Regions from separate parts of the Homo sapiens genome. Here all the other regions are linked to region 3. Evidence: promoter capture Hi-C in 16 types of primary human blood cells and fetal thymus (Javierre and others, 2016). All regions are on one chromosome and are shown on one strand. Each heading gives the region's core, a stretch centred on a gene start or on the middle of the fragment in contact. The rest is flanking DNA. Distances are from core to core; before and after follow the strand shown.

The links. Contacts are between HindIII fragments. The CHiCAGO score rates a contact against its expected background, and 5 or more counts as called.
Region 1: a contact is called between a fragment that was not itself captured here and the fragment with the promoter of CRTC3 in region 3, in 2 of 17 cell types (naive B cells and total B cells). The highest score is 5.5, in naive B cells.
Region 2: a fragment that was not itself captured here is called in contact with the fragment with the promoter of CRTC3 in region 3 in 3 of 17 cell types (total B cells, activated CD4 T cells and total CD8 T cells); the score reaches 8.0 in total B cells.
Region 4: a fragment that was not itself captured here is called in contact with the fragment with the promoter of CRTC3 in region 3 in 3 of 17 cell types (total B cells, naive B cells and fetal thymus); the score reaches 6.9 in total B cells.
Region 5: a fragment that was not itself captured here is called in contact with the fragment with the promoter of CRTC3 in region 3 in 1 of 17 cell types (total B cells); the score reaches 6.6 in total B cells.
Region 6: a contact is called between a fragment that was not itself captured here and the fragment with the promoter of CRTC3 in region 3, in 2 of 17 cell types (naive CD4 T cells and naive CD8 T cells). The highest score is 5.6, in naive CD4 T cells.
Region 7: a contact is called between a fragment that was not itself captured here and the fragment with the promoter of CRTC3 in region 3, in 3 of 17 cell types (monocytes, activated CD4 T cells and total B cells). The highest score is 5.7, in monocytes.

What each region holds. Positions count from the first base shown.
Region 1 is chr15:90,144,435-90,147,134 of GRCh38, reverse strand. No RefSeq gene overlaps it. Among named protein-coding and RNA genes, the nearest start is that of IDH2, 43 kb to the right of the region's middle. The HindIII fragment of the contact is 7,167 bases long and covers 1-2,700 here.
Region 2 is chr15:90,837,883-90,840,582 of GRCh38, reverse strand. LOC105370969 (a long non-coding RNA gene) reads right to left here and starts at 857. Exons shown (of 3, transcript XR_932610.3): 1 at 683-857. RefSeq lists an enhancer at 1-244. The HindIII fragment of the contact is 3,277 bases long and covers 1-2,700 here.
Region 3 is chr15:90,528,517-90,531,216 of GRCh38, reverse strand. CRTC3 (CREB regulated transcription coactivator 3) reads right to left here and starts at 1,294. Exons shown (of 15, transcript NM_022769.5): 1 at 1,014-1,294. The coding sequence starts at 1,145. RefSeq lists an enhancer at 191-350 and silencers at 741-920, 941-1,690, 1,791-1,840. The HindIII fragment of the contact is 15,096 bases long and covers 1-2,700 here.
Region 4 is chr15:90,859,197-90,861,896 of GRCh38, reverse strand. No RefSeq gene overlaps it. Among named protein-coding and RNA genes, the nearest start is that of FURIN, 8.0 kb to the left of the region's middle. The HindIII fragment of the contact is 1,096 bases long and covers 892-1,987 here.
Region 5 is chr15:90,788,968-90,791,667 of GRCh38, reverse strand. It overlaps BLM (BLM RecQ like helicase), which reads right to left. Exons shown (of 22, transcript NM_000057.4): 15 at 824-1,019. Among named protein-coding and RNA genes, the nearest start is that of BLM, 73 kb to the right of the region's middle. The HindIII fragment of the contact is 551 bases long and covers 1,040-1,590 here.
Region 6 is chr15:90,926,448-90,929,147 of GRCh38, reverse strand. No RefSeq gene overlaps it. Among named protein-coding and RNA genes, the nearest start is that of HDDC3, 4.8 kb to the left of the region's middle. The HindIII fragment of the contact is 3,766 bases long and covers 1-2,700 here.
Region 7 is chr15:90,809,406-90,812,105 of GRCh38, reverse strand. BLM (BLM RecQ like helicase) reads right to left here. Exons shown (of 22, transcript NM_000057.4): 21 at 700-901. Among named protein-coding and RNA genes, the nearest start is that of FURIN, 58 kb to the left of the region's middle. The HindIII fragment of the contact is 4,622 bases long and covers 1-2,700 here.

The sequences.
Region 1 (2,700 bases), core at 135-2,634, 380 kb after region 3:
TGAGCCACCACACTCAGTCTAAATAGAATATATTATTACAATTAATTTCACCAGTGGGTTTTTTGTTTTTACTTTTAAAAATGCAGCTACTAGAGTTTTTAAAACTACGCTCTTTTCTGCCATGGTGAAAAGTAAATTAATAAATTAAAAAACAACTACTAGGCCAGGCGCAGTGGCTCACGCCTGTAATCCTAGCACTTTGGGAGGCCGAGGCGGGCGGATCACCTGAGGTCTGGAGTTTGAGACCAGCCTGACCAACATGGAGAAACCCCATCTCCACTAAAAATACAAAATTAGCCGGGCATGGTGGCACATGCCTGTAATCCCAGCTACTCGGGAGGCTGAGGCAGGAGAGTCACTTGAACCCGGGAGGCGGAGGTTGCGGTGAGCCAAGATCACACTATTGCACTCCAGCCTGGGCAACAAGAGTGAAACTCCATCTCAAAAAAAACCCAAAAACAAACATTAACAACAACAACAAAACTACCTATGTGGCTTGCATTATGTGTTTATTGGACAGCAGCTGCTTAGAACAAGCCTGGTGTGGAGTAAGTCAGTGTAATTGTTAGCTGCTGTCAGTGTTCAGTGCCTGACACGTGGTAAGGGCTTATTGAAGAGCAGTTTTTTGGTTTTTGTTTTGTTTTGAAATGGAGTCTAGTTCTTTCACCCAGGCTGGAGTGCGGTGGTGCGATCTCAGCTCACTGCAACCTCCGCCTCCCAGGTTCAAGTGATTCTCATGCCTCAGCCTCCTGAGTAGCTGGGATTACAGGTGCTCCCCACCATGCCTGGCTAATTTTTGTATTTTTAGTAGAGACCGGGTTTCACCATGTTGGCCAGGCTGGTCTCAAACTACTGAACTCAGGCAATCTGCCTGCCTTAAACTCCCAAAGTGCTAGGATTATGAGCATGAGCAACCATGCCTGGCCTGTTTTTTTTTTTTTTCTTTTTTTGTGACAGGGTCTCACTTTGTCGTCCAGGCTGAATGAGTGTAGTGGTGTGATGTCAGCTCACTGCAGCCTAGATGTTCTGGGCTCACACAGTCCTCTCACCTCAGCCTTCTGAATAGCTCTGACTATAGGCATACACCACCATGTCCTGCTAAGTTTTCTACTTTTTTAGAGACGGGGTCTTGCTATGTTGCCCAGGCTGGTCGCAAACTCCTAGGCTCAAGCGATCCTCCTGCCTCAACTTCCCAAAGTGTTGGGATTACAGGTGGAGAGCCACTGTGCCTGGCCTTGAATGGCAGTTTTGAAGACTTCTCTCCATCCCCTCTCTTGCCTCTCTGCCTTGGCAATCCAACCTGGAAAGCATTGTCTGTTTCCTTCCCAGCTTGTCCTATTCACCGGCAGTGAGAGCCCTGTCTTTCCTTTGATCCTCCCAACTCCCAGTGCCTCTCCAGGGGTGCTGAGCCCCCCAGTGGATTTCCATGCTGGTGGGACTTTCTGGGTGTCCAGTTTCCCATCACCTCCCCTCTCCCACCAGCTCTGGGCCCGAGTACCTCTGCGTTCCCCCGGAGTCCACCCACCTGGGGTGTTGTGATCACTCTTTGCCATCGTCACTCTCGGGTTTTCTCCTTAGGCCCTGCTCTTCTGAGGCTTGATCTGTGATGCCGGGAGAGGTGGGACGCTGCCAGAAGGGGCTACTGGCAGGCTGCCAAGAGGCTGCCCACAGAGGCCTTTGCCCTGACAAATTCACCCCTGGGGCCCTGGGTCTGCCCTCCGCCTGGCAGCTGGTGGAGAGGAGAGCCAGGTCCCAGCTGTGGACTCAGACTAATCAATTGCTCAGGAGGCCAATATATACACCAGGTGGTAAGTTTCCAATGCATTTAGCAGGGTGAGACCGGTTTTTGTTTAGGAAAATATCTTGATAGCCACTTTTGTTGAGGAAGGGGAGGTGCTAAGGACATAGTTGAAGGAAGATGTTTAAACACAGGAGGAATCAAACGGCTTTACAGAGAACGTTAACCGGAACTTGGGGGCGAGGGACCCCAAAAGAGAAGAAGAAATGGAAAGATGGTCATAGAAATGAAGGGTGAAGGAGGGAGGAGGGAGGGAGAAAACAAAATGGCAAGGGCAGAGCCTGGGAGGTATGTGTCCACTGAGAATTTCACAGTGGCGGGGAGACCAAAGGGCTTTTTTTTTTTTTTTGAGACTCTTGTTGCCCAGGCTGGAGTGCAATGGCGTGATCTCAGCTCACTGCAACCTCCGCCTCTGGGTTCAAGTGATTCTCCTACCTCAGCCTCCCGAGTAGCTCGGATTACGGGCATGTGCTGCCACACCCAGCTAATTTTGTATTTTTAGTAAGATGGAGTTTCTCGATGTTGGTCATGTTGGTCTTGAACTCCCAACCTCAGGTGATCCGCCCGCCTCAGCCTCCCAAAGTGTTGGGATCACAGGAGTGAGCCACTGCACCCAGCCTCGAAGGACTTTTTTTTTTTCTTTTCTTTTTTTTTTTTTGGTGATGGAGTCTTGCTCTGTGGCCCAGGCTGGAGTACAGTGGTGCGATCTCAGCTCACTACAGCTTCTGCCTCCCAGGTTCAAGCAATTCTCCTGCCTCAGCCTCCTGAGTAGCTGGGACTACGGGCGCATGCCACCACCCCCGGCTAATTCTTTAATTTTTAGTAAAGACGGGGTTTCACCATGTTGGCCAGGCTGGTCTCGAACTCTTGTCCTTGTGATCTGCCTGTCTTGGCCTCCCAAA
Region 2 (2,700 bases), core at 132-2,631, 310 kb before region 3:
GTTGGCTGGCCTAACAGCAAAACCCCCGTTCCGTCATCCTCAAGAACAAGTCCGAGCCAGGCACGGTGGCTCACACCTGTAATTCCAGCACTTTGGGAGGCCAAGGTGGGTGGATCACCTGAGGTCAGGAGTTTGAGACTTGCCTGGCCAACATGTGAAGCCGTCTCTACTAAAAATACAAAAATTAGTCGGGCATGGTGGTGCACGCCTATAATCGCAACTACTCAGGAGGCTGAGGCAGGAGAATCATTTGAACCCAGGAGGTGGAGGTTGCAGTGAGCCGAGATTGCGCCACTGCAATCTGGGCTGGGTAACGAGTGAGACTCCGTCTCAAACAAAAGAACAGGCCCTGCGTGGGTGCCTCAGCCAGGCACCACTTTGTTCCCTGAGGCCTAGCTCCCCGTGGATGTGGTGCTGTCAGGGGAGTTCGTTGGTGTAGGAGCACGGGGCATCTATGATGTGCCAGGCACTGTGCCGGGCACTGGGGAGACAACAGTGACCTGGGCACACCCTGCTCTCATGGAGCTCACGGCTAAGGAGACAATACAGTGTGGAGGGGGCTGGGCTGAGAGGAGGCGCCCAATGGGGCATGGGCACAGAGACGCCCCAGGGGACGTCCCTGCAGTGGGGGGAGGGGGGCACAGTGGTAAAGGGAAGGAAAATGGCCATCGCGTCACAGTACCTGTTGGGACCGGTTCTGAGCTCCCATCAGATCCTCTGGAGAACTCCTAGGAATGCAGGAGGTGGAGCTGAGGGGCAGAGGCCAGAGCTGGACTCCTTTCCCTGCACTGGATGGTCAGCGGGCCCTTTCCTGAACGCCAGGCCTCTTGCAGGGCCTACGTAGGGGCTCCTACTGCGGCTTCTTCCCTGGCAGAGCCCAGCAGGAGCTCCTCGGCTCCCCTAGCTCTGCTTCCTCTTTTGATTTGCATAACAATCTGCCCAGACGAGCTTTGTACCTCTGCATCAGGGCTGGAGCCCAGCGCTGTGCTCTGCCAAAGGAGGAAAAAAAAAAAAAAGCTCTTACAATAAGAAAGCCCGACGGACGGTGGTTCCTGGGCAGGCTTCCCAGGGAATCAGCTCTGGATGACCTGCTGGCTTTGGTGTGGGTTTGGGTCAGACCCAGGTGAGGGGCCCTCTTTGAATCTTCCCCCTCCTGGCATAAGGCCCAGAGTCCTGTTCGTGGGGCCTGCTGGAGCCTGGTGCCCAGAACATTTATCCTACACACACCCACATGCCAAGGGATGTAGGATAGTGTAGTCATCACAACACTGCTTGTCTTAGCAAAAGACTAGAAATAACCTGCATGTCCAACAGTAGGGGATTGGTGATTCTGGACGTCCATACAAAGAATGACCCCATAAAAAGAATGAGGTTTGGGGCTGGGTGCAGTGGCTCATGTCTGTAATCCCAGCACTTGGGGAAGCTGAGGCAGGCAGATCACCTGAGGTCAAGAGTTTGAGACCAGCCTGGCCAACACGGAGAAACCCCATCTCTACGAAAAATACAAAAATTAGCTGGGCGTGGTGGTGCATGCCTGTAATCCCAGCTACCTGGGAGGCTGAGGCAGGAGAATCGCTTGGACCCAGGAGGCGGAGGTTGCAGTGAGCCAAGATCATGCCACTGCACTCCAGCCTGGGTAACAAAGTGAGGCTCTGTCTCAAAAAAAGAACGAGGTTCCATGGGGTGTACTCACAAAGTGGGGGGTGGGGGCATCAGTTCTTGCACCCCCATGTGGGCACTTTGCCTATTCCATGCCCCTAGAGGCTGCAACAAATGCGTCAGCTGGGGATGCCCCAAACGCCCCAGGGACTCAGCGTCCCTGCTTTCCATGGCTCTAGTCCTTGCCTGGCACTGGGGCTGAGGAGTCCGCTGACGACAATGGGCCTGCCAGTCCCCGCTCCGTGGCCACGAGTGGCCCCTTCTGCACGCCCTGCCTCCGCTCCCTCATCTGTAAGATGGGGACAATCCACCGACCTTGTATGTGTGATGAGCCCCTGGCGTACAGAGCGGCTGTGCAATAAAGGTGATTCTGACCGAAGTTTGGCCCCGTGGGAACTGTAGGGTGGGGGAGCGTGCAGAGCAGGGAGAGCAGGAACACAGTCCCAGAGATGCCCTGATAGGTCTTCAGGGAGGAGCGGGGACTCCAGTGCTTGGGCCCTACCTGTCACCTGCTATGTGTGTGTTGGGGGCCTGAGCCGCCTTCACAGCAGACAGCGCTCTGGAGGGGAAGAGTTCACCTCACAATTTCCTGAGCTGGGGAGGAGGGTGCGTCAGGCAACACCGCGGTGACAGCCCCCGCCCTCGCCCCCGCCTGCTCCGAGATTTACCCAGCCCTGCTGGCAGCGGCGGGTGACCTCAGCTCACCCACCAGTCTCAGGAAGGGGTGAGGTTGTGCTGGGGGATTGCCCTGAAGCTGCTTTTGCTGCGGTGCCTAGAGGGTATGATTTGGGGGTGCTTTCGTAGGAGCTGGTGGAGTTGGTGTGGGGTGACACTTCCCAAGGCTCTGCAGGGGCAGGGGGGCCTGAGCTGAAAGAGAAGGGGGCTGAACCGGGCGCGGTGGCTCATGCCTGCAATCCCAGCACTTTGGGAGGCCGAGGCGGGCAGATCACCTGAGGTCAGGAGTTCAAGACCAGCCTGACCAACATGGTGAAACCCCATCTCTACTAAAAATACAAAAATTAGCCGGGCGTGGTGGCACAT
Region 3 (2,700 bases), core at 45-2,544:
AGTCTTCCAATTTAAAAATTCTGGCAACAGATTCAATAATTTTTCCCAAACACTGCGCTGGCCAAAAAATAATGTGTCTGCAACTCAGCTGGTTTGCAACTCTGCTCTCAGCTCTCCTTCAAACTGTCTCCCCCGCCTCAGTCCCCCAGAATCTGCAGATCCTCCCCCATCCTCCCGATGGTCCTCCAAGGTCAGCATTCAGGATCCTCAAGGCCAGCCCCACTCCTGCTGACCCCCCTTCTCTGCAACCCTGCGCGGACACTCCGGTTGGCTCTCCATCCTCCACTGCCTCACTCAGCGGTTACCTAACCTCTCCAGGTGTTTGTCCCGGCTCGCGCCTTACTCATTCCTCCAGGTCCCTCTCCAGTCACCAGCGACGCTTGTCAGTTCTCACTAAATATCCCGGGCCGAACAAAGTAAACTGGACCCGATAAAGCACCTCCAAGGAGTAAAAGGAGCAGAGCCTCACACTCGACACGGAATCCCGTCGTGGTTCCAACAACCCGAGCCACCCCAGGGCCGGGCCCTGGATGGACTTGTGCACAGAGCTCCCCCCACGAGCGCGTGGGACCCTGGGGTGCCCGCGGCCTTCCACGCCGGCAGAACAGCAGGGCTCGATGGTGGGGGATGTTCGGAGCGACCAGAAGCCGCGCCGCGCCACCCGGCCGGCCTCCGAGCTGTTTGCGATTTCCTCTCGGGGCTCCTCGTCCTCCTCCCCCTCAGGCCGCCCTCGCACGGCCGCCCGCCTCCACGGGCTTCACCCCTGCCCATCTTCCCGCACACGGGGCCGGGCGACCCTCCCACCTCAGCCCGGGATCGCGAACGGCTAGCGGGTGTCGCCAGGCGGGGAAACGCCGAGGCCGCGGCCGCTCCGGTCCCCCTCCCAGCCGCCGGTTCCCGGGCGCGGCCCCCGCCCGGCCCCGCCATCGCCTTGGCCCCGCAACCTCTCACCCGCCGCGCGGGTCCCGCCCGCGGCCGTGGCCGCCCCCGCCCGCGCCGGCCCGGGCCCTCACCCGCGACAGGGTGAGGTCGGTCATGAGCTGCTCGAAGGCCCGCGTCTCCTCGGCCTGTCTCTGCGTGTGCAGCGCGATCTTCTCACTGAACTTCCGCGGGTTGGCGCTGCCCGAGCCCGGCGAGGCGGCCATGGCGCGGACTCTGCGCGGGCAGAAGCGGGAGACGGCGGCCGTGGGGCCTGTACCTCGGCCCACCCGTCCGTCCACAGGCCGCCGGGGCCGCCGCCCGAAGCCAGTCGTCCGGCGCGACCCGGCAGAGGAGCCGCCGCGGCCCCGGAGCCAGCGAGCGGCCGGGAGCGCGCCGAGGTCCGCCCCCGTGCGCCCGGCCCCGCCCCACCCTCGGCGGGGCCCGCCCGGCCTCCAGTCTGCCCCGGCCCCACGCTCGCGGGCTGAGGGCTGCTCCCCGCTTCCCGGTCTGGCTCGGGACCCGCCGCCGGCGGCCACCTGGAGGGACCCCCGTCAGCCCGACAAAGTGGCCCCGGCGTACGGGGAACGCTGGGGTGCCACTCCACGGAGACTCTCCGACCCAGGGATGGCCTCTGCGTCTACGCGACGTGGAGAACACAGCCTGTGCCCGCATCCCCCCTCCCCCAGCCAAATTACGAAGATTTTCTTCTCCAGGTGGAACCTGGGCGACCGGACCTCGAGCAGGTCACCTCGGGCCCCCGCAGGGGGTGCGCCCATTTTGCCTGGGGCCTAACGTCTGCCCGCCAGCCCTGCCGCTCCAGGCCCCCGGCCTCCAGCCGCTGGTTTCCTGACCTCTCACACCCACCCCTCCCCGCTCCAGTCAACCAGAGCTGTATCTCGGCTTTAAAAACTGCCTCCTATTCTGCACAAACTACAAACACCATCCAGCCCTGCTGCAGCCTTGGCTCCATAGCCCCGGCCCCCTTTCCAGGTTCTTTCCAAGTCTCCCTACGGCCTCTCCACTCCTGTGGCAGCTTCAGCAGGTGCCAGCCCCACCTTGGGAAACCAGCGCTCAGCCTCAGCGAATTTCCCCTTCTTTTGGGGGAGTGAATGGATGTCTTTCTCTGTCGCCCGGTCTGGAGTGTAGTGGTGCGATCTCGACTCACCGCGGCCTTGACCTCCCGGGCTCAAAAGATCCTCCCACCTCAGCCTCCCGACCAGCTGGGACCACAGGCGGGGGTCACCACGCCCGGCTAGTTTGTAAATGTTTTTGTAGCAATGGGGGGCGGGGGTGGGTCTCGCTATTTTGCCCAGGCTGGTCTCGAACGCCTGGGCTCAAGCGATCTGCCCACCTCAGCCTCCCAAAGTGCTGGGATAACAGGCGTGGGCCACAGTGCCCGGGGAGTTTCCTCTTTGGAGTCCAGAAGCTACTCTCAGCATAAATGTTGATGTGCACAAAGATGTCCCGGGGAGCCCTGAGCGTGTGTCAGTGTTCTGTAAAGAGGGAAATATTAGAGGCCTACGGAAGAGTACGGAAAATAATATTAATACTACCCACGCCCCCCACTATCAAGATTAAACAGACATCAATACATTTTGCTGCATGTACTTGGGATTTATTAAAGACATACAAAATTAGTCATAACGACGGCCCCACTCTCATTTCTTCTTCCGCCCCACAGATAGTCACCGTGCTCAAGTTGGTACATATCATTCCAGTTTGTGTTTTTATACTTTTATTACATATGATGTAGAGATCCAGCAATGCTATATGGAATAC
Region 4 (2,700 bases), core at 190-2,689, 330 kb before region 3:
GTTAGCCAGGATGGTCTTGATCTCCTGACCTCGTGATCCCGCCCACCTTGGCCTCCCAAAGTGCTGGGATTACAGGCATGAGCCACCACGGCTGGCCTATACTCCCCTTTTTAATCAAAAGGCAGCATACTACAATTTCTTTTTTACTTAGCAGTACATCTACATCGGAGAAACGTACCTAGTAAATATAAACAAAACTGCAAACCCAATAAAATTTAAAGTAACAATATCTGTTTAATGAGAAGGATGATGTTGTTTGCCTGAAACCACATTGCTACTTTTAGCGATATGGGACTGACCACTCAGAGCGGATCTGCTTTTGAGCTTGACATGTATACAGATGCTGCCATGCTCTGGGGAATGACTCAATTCTCCCCAACCTTTCTCTATTTGAATTACTGCAATACTTTTGTTTGCACAGCGGGCTGTTACATCATTTGGCCTTCACTTGGCTTCAACGCATCATTTACGCATTAAATCCGCCTCTGTTCTTTTCTTGTTAGCCAGCAGCAATTAAACAGGACTACTCGATGCCAGCACAATCATAAACACAAATGCAAACTTGGGCAGTGAAATCCTGTGTCAACAATAAATTGTAAGGTGGTCAAGCCGACGATGATGCGAATGAAAATAATCGTAATGGCCAACTTGCTATGCGCTGGCACCATGCTAAATGTTTTAAGTGCAAGGTTTTATTTAATTCTCCCAGCAACTCTATAATAAAATAAGCACTACCCATTTCACAGATAAGAACATTTAGTCTTAGCGGGATTAAATAACTTGCTCAAGGTCACATGTATCGGAAGTGGTAGAGGCAGCATTTGAACCCATGTCTGTCTGACCCCAGGGATCAGTAAGGGTTTGTGATGGGAGCATGGACCTCACTAAGCTTTTTGCCATCAGTTCCTGGCCATAATTGCCCACCTTGGCCAGGCCTGCTGGGCTGGGCAAGGAAGGTATGTGGAGCCTGGGGCAGAGAGTGGAAAGGGAGTGTGGTGGTCACAGTCCCTGTTGAGACCTGGACTCCTAAGGGCCCCTCTCCCTGAAGTCCTGGGAGAAATTGCACCAAACCTGGCCTTATGACCCTGATTCCTCTCACCCAATATCAAAGTGAATAAATACACACACGCCAAAAATACCACTTGGAAGATAACGATCTATGTCCAGGACTGTAACAATGCCACTCTGTCAGGTCTTGGCGAAGGACTAAGAGTTCCGCATGTTCCTGCGGTGTCCCTGGCTGGTCACCCTAGGCTGGAGCTGGGCAGTGTTCAAGATGAAAGCACAGGGCCAGGCATGGTGGCTTCTGCCTGTAATCCCTGTGCTTTGGGAGGCCGAAGCAGGAGGATGACTTGAGGTCAGGATTTCAAAACCAGCCTGGGCAAGAAAGCATGATAATGACTCCTCTATAAAAAATTTTTTTAAAAAGATGAAAGCACATGCCGGGCGCGGTGGCTCACACCTGTAATCCCAGCACTACAGGAGGCCGAGGCAGGCAGATCACCTGAGGTCAGGAGTTGGAGACCAGCCTGGCCAACACGGCAAAACCCCGTCTCCACTAAAAATACAAAAATTAGCCTGGCGTGATGGCATGTGCCTGTGATCCCAGCTACTCGGGAGGCTGAGGCAGGTGAATCACTTGAACCCAGGAGGCGGAGGTTGCAGTGAGCTGAGATGGAGCCACTGCACTCCAGTCTGGGCAAGAGAGTGAGACTCCATCTCAAAAAAAATAAAAATAAAAAAAAAGAAAAGATGAAAGTGCAGACTTGTGGCCAGTATCTCCCTCTGGCCTTTCACCCTCCTCCCATCCTGTCCTGTCTTACTTCATCTCCCACTTCCTCTCCTGTCACTGCCGTTTGTTCTTTCCCTGTCCTGGGCCTGTCGTTAATCCCCGTTGGAGCTGGAATCTGCAGCTCCAACTTTGTTTAATGAGAAGGGTGAGATAGGGCGGCCAGGAAGGCCTGGAGTCAGAGGCTCAGCCCAAGCTTAGTTACCAAGTCATGGAACAGGTCTGAGCTTCCCATACTGCTGGGGCAACAGATGTGTTAAGTGTACCAGCCCCAAAACGATGACCCGGGGTGTCCTGTGGGGACCTGGCTGCCACCCTCCTTAACAACAGCTCCAGGGTGGGAGTCTGGCCCTCAAAGATCAGGGCAGCTGAGGCCAACCAGGCTCCTGGGGACTGACTCACACTAAGGCATTTACACAACAAATGCCCAAACCCTCTCTAATGCACAGGTACTTCCAGGCCTGCCAAAGCCCCTGTCTTGGTAAGGGTCCCCAGAGAAGGTACACAGAGACCCAAGCCAGCAGCCAGGGATGGTGCCATTGCATCTCTGCACCCACTTCCTCAGATCCAGGCCTGAGAACACAAGCACCCTTCCTCCTCCCCACCAGGACCAGATAGCCCAGCACTTTCCGGTAAGCCTCTTGCCCCACATAGTAATTTGGTTTCAGTTTTCCTAGATCAATACAATTGATTGTGAAAACCCAGTTCCCCTGTCCGTTTGGCTCTAGGTGCCAGGAACTGTTAGAGCTCCAGCTGTGTGCTGCCATCATGCGGCTCCCAGGATGGCCTTCACTTGGCTCCCTATGATTGGATTTGGGTATTCGCAATCTTTTTATCTGGGTTTCAGCTTCTACTAGAATTCAACCCTTCCCTATTACAAAAAAAAAAAATCTAGTTTCTTACATTATGAA
Region 5 (2,700 bases), core at 66-2,565, 260 kb before region 3:
GACTCGGTCTTGAAAAAAAAAAAATCTTATATAAGTAACTGCAAAAATGCCCAAAGATATTTGTATAGGGAGGGATGTTCAATACTGCATTGTTGATAACAGTGAAAAACAATAAACAAGATCTAGTAAGAGGGGATTAGTTTAATAACCATGGAATAACCATACTACGGAATTCTAGGTAGTCAGGCTGTATGTATTCATTGGAATGATAATTACATCCTACTGTTGACTGAAAAAAATCGGGTCATTATATATATAAAGTATGTATAATATAATCCCATTTACATTTTAAAATATGTGCATTTGGAAAAGGTACATACCAAATACAAGATATTTGCCTGCCTCTAATGGGAGAGGACGGATGAGACAAGAGAGGCTATGGGGTGGTGGGGAGGGGTTCAGCTCGATTGATTGTGTTTTATTTCTTAATCCAGATGGTAGTATATGACAGCTCATTATTTTCTCCTTTTTATCTTCCTGCATGTTTGAAATATGTGTTACATGCAAGAATGCATGCAGAAATAGGGTCTGAAAGGATACAAAGGAAACCAATAACTAGAGTTATTTTGGGGGCAAAACTACAAGGCATGGTTTGTAAATTTTCTGCCTTGTACACATCTGTATCATTTGAGTTTTACAAAATAAGCACTTACCACTTTTATAATAAAAATGAACTAAAATAAAATTGCCAATCTGTATAAACTCCTCTATTTTTCTACGATTATTTAAGGAAAACTGGACCAGAAGTACCACAATAGCAGGAGTAGACTACTATCATGAGGCTGAAGATGACAGAATGTCTCTACAATGGAGCCCAGCTTACTCATTATAAGTCTTTTCAGTCTGGTCACATCATGATAGGTATAGAAAAGCAGGCAGTGAGATATTTCCCCATCTCTTCCAGCTCTGCCAGATTCTTGGTAGTAACCCTCCACAGATTTAGGGAGAGATGCATGAATCACAAATCGCACGTCCGGTTTGTCAATCCCCATTCCAAATGCAATTGTAGCACAGATAACCTGATATAAAAGCAAAAGCTTATTAGATTCATAAGGCACAGACTTGAAGGAACATTTTCATAATAGATGCTTCTAAAAGCTCTATCATTTGTTTTACTTTAAAATGCACACTACATAACAACCTAATATCTTAACTTGGTCCAACTATTTAGTATAACTAATATGAGTTTTTATACTGATAACTTGCAATGCCATTAAAACCCAAGAAGGTAAAGAGAAGCTCAGCATGGCAGGCACTTTCTTGTATGACTTGGCATTCTCATGTAAGAGAGCCAGAATCAACTGCAGTCAGCCCACGATGTGCTGCCACTGTTCTCTGTTTTTGCTACTGAGGTGTGGGGGGTGTTGCTCACACAGTCATGATATCCAGGTCAGTGATCACAAGCAACGTGTTGCTCAGGAGCTCCAGGGTGTTCCCAGGGCTCCTCAGAGGTCACTGCTGCTAGTTCCTCCAATGGTTCAGGAACAATACGTTCTTACCTGCTCCACTGCTTATCATCAGTTTTCCCAATAGCACCAGCTGATCACACATCAACTCCTTCTATTCATCAGCTGATTTAAAGTCAAAGCTTGTACAATTTTAATGGAAACTCATGTGGGTAAAAGTCTGAGAGCTACTTATACCAAAAAAAAAAAAAAAAAAAAAAAAAAAAAAAAAAAACACCAGGGACTGCGGATCTTAGACCTTACAAATTACTTAGTGGAAGCAAGGTGATAGTTCACTCTCAGGAGCTTGATAAATCAGTTTTCAAGGATATCCATTTCAGTTGAGAATTTAGGAGCTATTTAACCCAGACCAAAATGTTATATCTCCAGGCAAAATTACACTTCACAAATAAAACTGCAAGTTTTTTTTTAGCACTTAAAAAAATGAATTGCTACTGCAAGAACAGTATTTCAAAGGCATCTGAAATATCTGGCAGGCAGACTGAGACTAATGACATGATTTCAGTAACTGTGAGTACCAGCGGAAGGAACTGCAAGCTCTGGAGTATGTGGACAGTAAAGGGGTACATTTATCAACACCAGGAATGGCGGTGAGTGGCCTGCGCTCTCGGTTAGTCATCCATCTACATTTATGGCACTCTGATCAAAGGCAAATCTCCTTGGAAACAGAAAGACTATTGTAGCTTCTAGTGATGGAGAGCAGGTGGAGAAGCTGCACAGCAAGATGTGTCAGCCGACAGGTCCGGAAGCATGACCCACAGGGTTCCATGAAGTCCAGGTGCATCTCCCAGTATCAGGGCGGGCACAGGGCTGTGAGGCACCGCCTGCAGCCTCCAGATGAGGATGCAAGGCTGCCAACTCTTTCTGAAAGCTCTTATTTCTTGAAATTGGGAAAAGTGGCTTTGTTTAATTGTGATTTCCTTCTTTATTTCTGCGCTTTTAAAACTTCAAGCCACAATCATTCTTTGTGAAGAATAATGGCCAAGTTTTATTCTATCTCATGAATCTAACGAGATCAAGTCTGTCGAGCTGGTGTAGGCTAATATTACATGCTGACTGTAAGGATTAATTAGTCTGAGAGCAGAAATAATTAGGTTTTTATAAACCCCTATTGTTTAACCATATTTTTTATCAAAGTTATATATATATATATATATATCTCCATTGTAGATTATTTATACTATACATAACCATTTAAAGCACTTGAAAAAAATCATTTTTTTTTTTTTTTGAG
Region 6 (2,700 bases), core at 174-2,673, 400 kb before region 3:
ACCCAATTTTTTGTTGTTTTTGTGGCAAGAACATTTTGGGTTAATTTTTGTATATGGTGTAATTTTTTTGTATATACACCATATACAAAATATATGATGTATGGTTTTGCTTGTGGATGTCCAGTTTTCCTAGCACCATTTGATGCAAGGTCTGTCCTCTTAGTACCTGTTTTTGGATTTTTTTATTTTTTATTTTTTAGTAGAGATGGCGTTCCACTAAGTTGGCCACACTGGTCTCGAACTCCTGACCTCAGGTGATCTGCCCACCTCAGCCTCCCAAAGTGCTGGGATTACAGGCGTGAGCCACTGTGCCCAGCCTTGAATAACTCTTCACAATATTGCTTTCTAGAATTTTAGTTCCTGCCTCTTTTTAAACTATAAACTAGTATTACATTTATAGCCAGTATTTAGGTGTACCCTCCCTCTCATTAGTTTATGCCCCTAGACAAATTCTCTTTTTGCTTAAGTACACCTACTTTCTTCCACTAAAGTTTTGTACATTGCAAACTGTTGAGTCTTTGCATGTCTGAAAATGTCTTCATTTCCCCCGTGCTCTTGAATGGTGTAGCTGATAGCAAATTCAAGGCTGAGTTTTCTCTAGGTTTGAATGGACTCCAGGTGTCTACTGTAGCTAACTAGATGTCTGCTATCACTGTGATTGTCTTTCCTTTGTAAGACTTTTCTATTTTTTTTTTTTTGAACAGCATCTCCAATTTGCATTCATAAAATTATTAATCCAAATTGCGAAAGTAGACTTTTACAGAGTCACAGGTCAGTAACAAAACAGGAAATGAAATGTTCCAGAGCCTTTTTTTTTTTTTAAGATGGATTCTCGCTCTGTCACCCAGGCTGGAGTACAGTGGCGCAATCTCGGCTCACTGCAACCTCTGCCTCCTGGGTTCAAGCGATTCTTATGCCACAGCCTCCCTAGTAGCTGGGATTACAGATGTGTGCCACCACGCCCGGCTAATTTTTGTATTTCTAGTAGAGACAGGGTTTCACCATGCTGGCCAGGCTGGTCTCAAACTCCTGACCTCAAGTTATCCGCCTGCCTTGGCCTCCCAAAGTGCTGGGATTACAGGCATGAAGCCATCGTGCCCGGCCTCCAGAGACATTTTGATAAGTTCCAAAGAAACACACTAGGCAGGCTGGGTGCAGAGGCTCACGCCTGTAATCCCAGCAATTTGGGAGGCCCAGGCGGGTGGATCACGAAGTCAGGAGATCGAGACCATCCTGGCTAACATGGTGAAACCCCGTCTCTACTAAAAATACAAAAAAATTAGCCGGGCATGGTGGCGGGCACCTGTAGTCCCAGCTACTCGGGAGGCTGAGGCAGGAGAATCACTTGAACCCAGGAGGCGGAGGTTGCAGTGAGCCAAGGTCATGCCACTGCACTCCAGCCTGGGAGACAGAGCAAGACTCCGTCTCAAAAAAAAAAAAAAAAAAAAAGGCCAGTGTGGTGGCTCACGCCTGTAATCCCAACACTTTGGGAGGCCGAGGCGGGTGGATCATGAGGTCAGGAGATCAAGACCATCCTGGCTAACACGGTGAAACCCTGTCTCTACTAAAACTACAAAAAATTAGCCAGGCGTGGTGGCGGGCGCCTTTAGTCCCAGCTACTTGGGAGGCTGAGGCAGGAGAATCACTTGAACCTGGGAGGCAGAGGTTGCAGTGAGCCGAGATCACGCCACTGCACTCCAGCTTGGGCGACAGAGCTAGACTCCGTCTCAAAAAAAAAAAAAAAAAAAAAAAAGCTAGGCTAAAAATCTACAGTTAAACCATGGTTGTACAACAGGTTATATTCATTCCTGCAGTTTCTCAATAAGTTCTTATATTTGCCTTTCTCTTTTGAGAGTGAATCCCACTCACTCTATTGCCAAGGCTGGAGTGCAGTGGCATGATCTCAGCTAACTGCAACCTCCACCTCCCTGGTTTAAGCTATTCTTCTGCCTCAGCCTCCTGAGTAGCTTTGACTACAGGCGCATGCCACCAGCCCAGCTAATTTTTGTATTTTTAGTACAGACAGGGTTTTGCCATGTGGGCCAGGCCGATCTCAAACTCCTGACCTCAGGTGATCCACCCACCTTGGCCTCCCAAAGTGCTGGAATTACAGGCGTGAGCCACCGTGCCTGGCCTTTAGGTTTTATCTTACGTAATTTGCAATATATCTACACGAGGTTTTTTAAATTGTTTTAATTTTTTTGAGACGGAGTCGTGCTCTGTCGCTCAGGATGAAGTGCAGTGGCATGATCTTGGCTATTTGCAACCTCCATCTCCCAGGTTCAAGCGATTCTTCTGCCTCAGCCTTCCAAGTAGCTGGGATTACAGGCTATAGGCACACACCAGCATGCCCCGCTACATTTTGATTTTTCTGGTTTTTGGGTTTTTTTGTATTTTTAGTAGAGACAGGGTTTCACCACGTTGGCCAGGCTAGTCTCAAACTCCTGACCTCAAGTGATCTGCCCACGTTGGCCTCCCAAAGTACTGGGATTATAGACATGAGCCACTGCACCTGGCCTGTTTATTTATTTATTTGTTTGTTTGTTGTTGTTGTTGTTGTTTTGAGACGGAGTCTCACTCTGTCGCCCAGGCTGGAGTGCAGTGGCGCGATCTCGGCTCACTAAAACCTCTGCCTCCGGGTTCATGCCATTCTCCTGCCTCAGCCTCCCAAGTAGCTGAGACTACAGGCGCCCGCCACCA
Region 7 (2,700 bases), core at 128-2,627, 280 kb before region 3:
CCCTTTGTTATTTATTCAGCTAGTGTATGATTTATAGTATTGTAGGTGGAAAAGTCTCTTAAGAAGAACAATCATCCCAAACAGGCAAACAAATATCTAAGGGAAGATCAACATGGAAGACATCTTTGCAAACAAGAAACATTAGTCAGGCTGAGTGCGGTGGCTCACGTCTGTAATCCAGCACTTTGGGGAGACCAAAGTGGGCTGATCACTTGAGCTCAGGAGTTTGAGACCAGCCTGGGCAACATGGGGAAACTCCATCTGTACAAAAAATACAAAAATTAGCCAGGAGTGATGGTATACACCTGGAGTCCCAGCTACTCAGGAGGCTGAGGTGGGAGGATCACTTGAGTACAGGAGGCAGAGGTTGCAGTGAGCCGAGATTGTGCCACTGCACTCTAGCCTGGGCAACAGAGTCAGACTTTGTCCTCAAATTAAAAAAAGAAAGAAAACTTTAGTCATAACTATTAGTCAGTAGATGTTTTAAACATCTGAAGCAAATATTTTTTGTTGTTTCTTGAAGCAAATATTTTTGTTTTGGATCAAACCTTAATTGTCACTCCATTAACAACTGTCATTCCATTAGCAATATTTAATAATGGCTTATTTTAATAAATCCTTCAAAGCAAGGCAGAGCTGTTGCACTTTTGTCCTTTCTTCCCTTGTTCCCTATATTGAAAAAGATGTCACAAAACATACCCCTTTGCCTTGGAACCACTGGAAGCAGTTTTTCTCCTCTTAGACCTTTGGGAGGCTGGCATCTTTTTCCTCTTCCTTTCATTTCTGGTTTTACTTGCAAAGTAGTGGGAAGATACGGGTATTTCCTCGTCGAGCTCCTCAGCGGCACTTCTTCCGGGGCCTCTGCTGCTGGACAGGCTTATCCCTGGGGAACTGTCTTCAGCTACAAATGGAAAATGCAGATGTTTACAGGTGATGTCGCACTGGTCCACGTGTTTTTAGTGTATATGAAGAGACACGCTGCAGGGGCCCATTTTAGCAGATACCTAGCTGCTTCCCTGCCATATGGATTCAACAATTCAGCAAGAACCAAACCTTTTTTTACTGCACAAAGCCCCAAAGTGTTCAATGGCAATTCATTTTTAACAAAAGAGAATCAGAATTCATTAAAAAAATTTGTGATAGTCTTGAAGTTAACTAGAGACATGAGGTTTAGCTCATACTGTCGCATATGGCCTGTGTTCCTGTTGTTGATTGGGCAGTTAGTTCTGGTAGGCAATTCAAAAAGTATCAACTGCTATAAAGATGGCAGGCAATTTTACTTATTTTAAATGTGCTGAAAAAATCAGCTCAATATAAGGGAAACAAACGGTCCTGTATCTCATCTTTGAACAATAGTTTCTTAGTAAATGAACATAAGAAAATTCTAGATCCTATTTTACTCTTTACAGACAAAAAAACTTGTCTTTGCACAATATGGCTGAACATGTCACATATTATGCGGGAGGTGAGACCGCATGAAAGCACACATTTGCAAAGAAGATGGTAATTTCCATAAGTATTTGCATCCCAAGGCACCCAAAAAGCATGAAACCTCCCTATAGATAGCTCACACGGGGACCCAGTCTCCATTTCCTGGCTGGTCTGCCTTGTCCTACAGGCCACCCTACAGGAGCAGCATGGAGGGCACAGGACTCCACCATGGCTGCTCCAACCCTGGCTCACTGTCAAAATGTATTCGGAACAAGGCTTTTAATGGACTAATTACCATATAGAAGAATTTAGGAGAACCTGACCAGGTGTGGTGGCTCATGCCTGTAACCCCAGCACTTCAGGAGGCTGAGGCAGGTGGATCACTTGAGGTCGTAAGTTCAAGACCAGCCTGGCCAACATAGTGAAACCCCAACTCTACCAAAAAAATACAAAAATAAGTCAGGTGTGGTGGTGCATGCCTGTAGTCTCAGCTACTGGGGAGGCTGAGGTGGGATAATTGCTTGAATCTGGGAGGCATAGTGAGCCAAGATTGTGCCACTGAACTCCAGCCTGGAGTGAGACTCTGTCAAAAAAAAAAAAAGCGACTAGGTAAAGAGAGAACTTGAACTATCTCATCCTGCTCATCATTTCCATCATCCTTGGGAAGACCCCCACACTGCCTGTCTGGAAGCAGGAAGAACACTGAACCGGGCCTGTCTGTTGTGTCCTATTACGTGGTGATGTTATCAGAGGGCAGAAGACTTCTGTGCTCTCAATATTTCCTACAACAAAATGCTTTGTTGTTCTCATTTCCCCCAGGTCAATGATTTCTAAAGCTGTAATGATGATGAAGCTCATGATTAGAAGTGCCACAGGACAGGCCTAACGTGACTCCGGGAACGTCTGATAATGATGCACTCAGGCAGGTTCTATCAATGACTAACAATAATAACATTCTAGCTGCATGCTCATTTCTCCAAAACATTTAAACACTAGTCTTAAATTTTATCTTTAGACATGTTTGTCAGATAACATGTTCCTTCCTTGGTGGAGGAACCTGATTCACAAAGAGGCTATTGGTGGCCTGCTAGAGACCACACAGCATGACGTGGTGGCAGATCTGGAACTGGTACCCAGGGCTCTGATCCCTTGAGCACTTGCATTACGGGAACCAGCAACCCCTGGGCCCAAAGGTCCCCTTTTGGATCCTATGAGTAAGTTCAGAACTGGCACTCACAGGGGGCATAAGCACTAGTGTCCTCTCAGAGG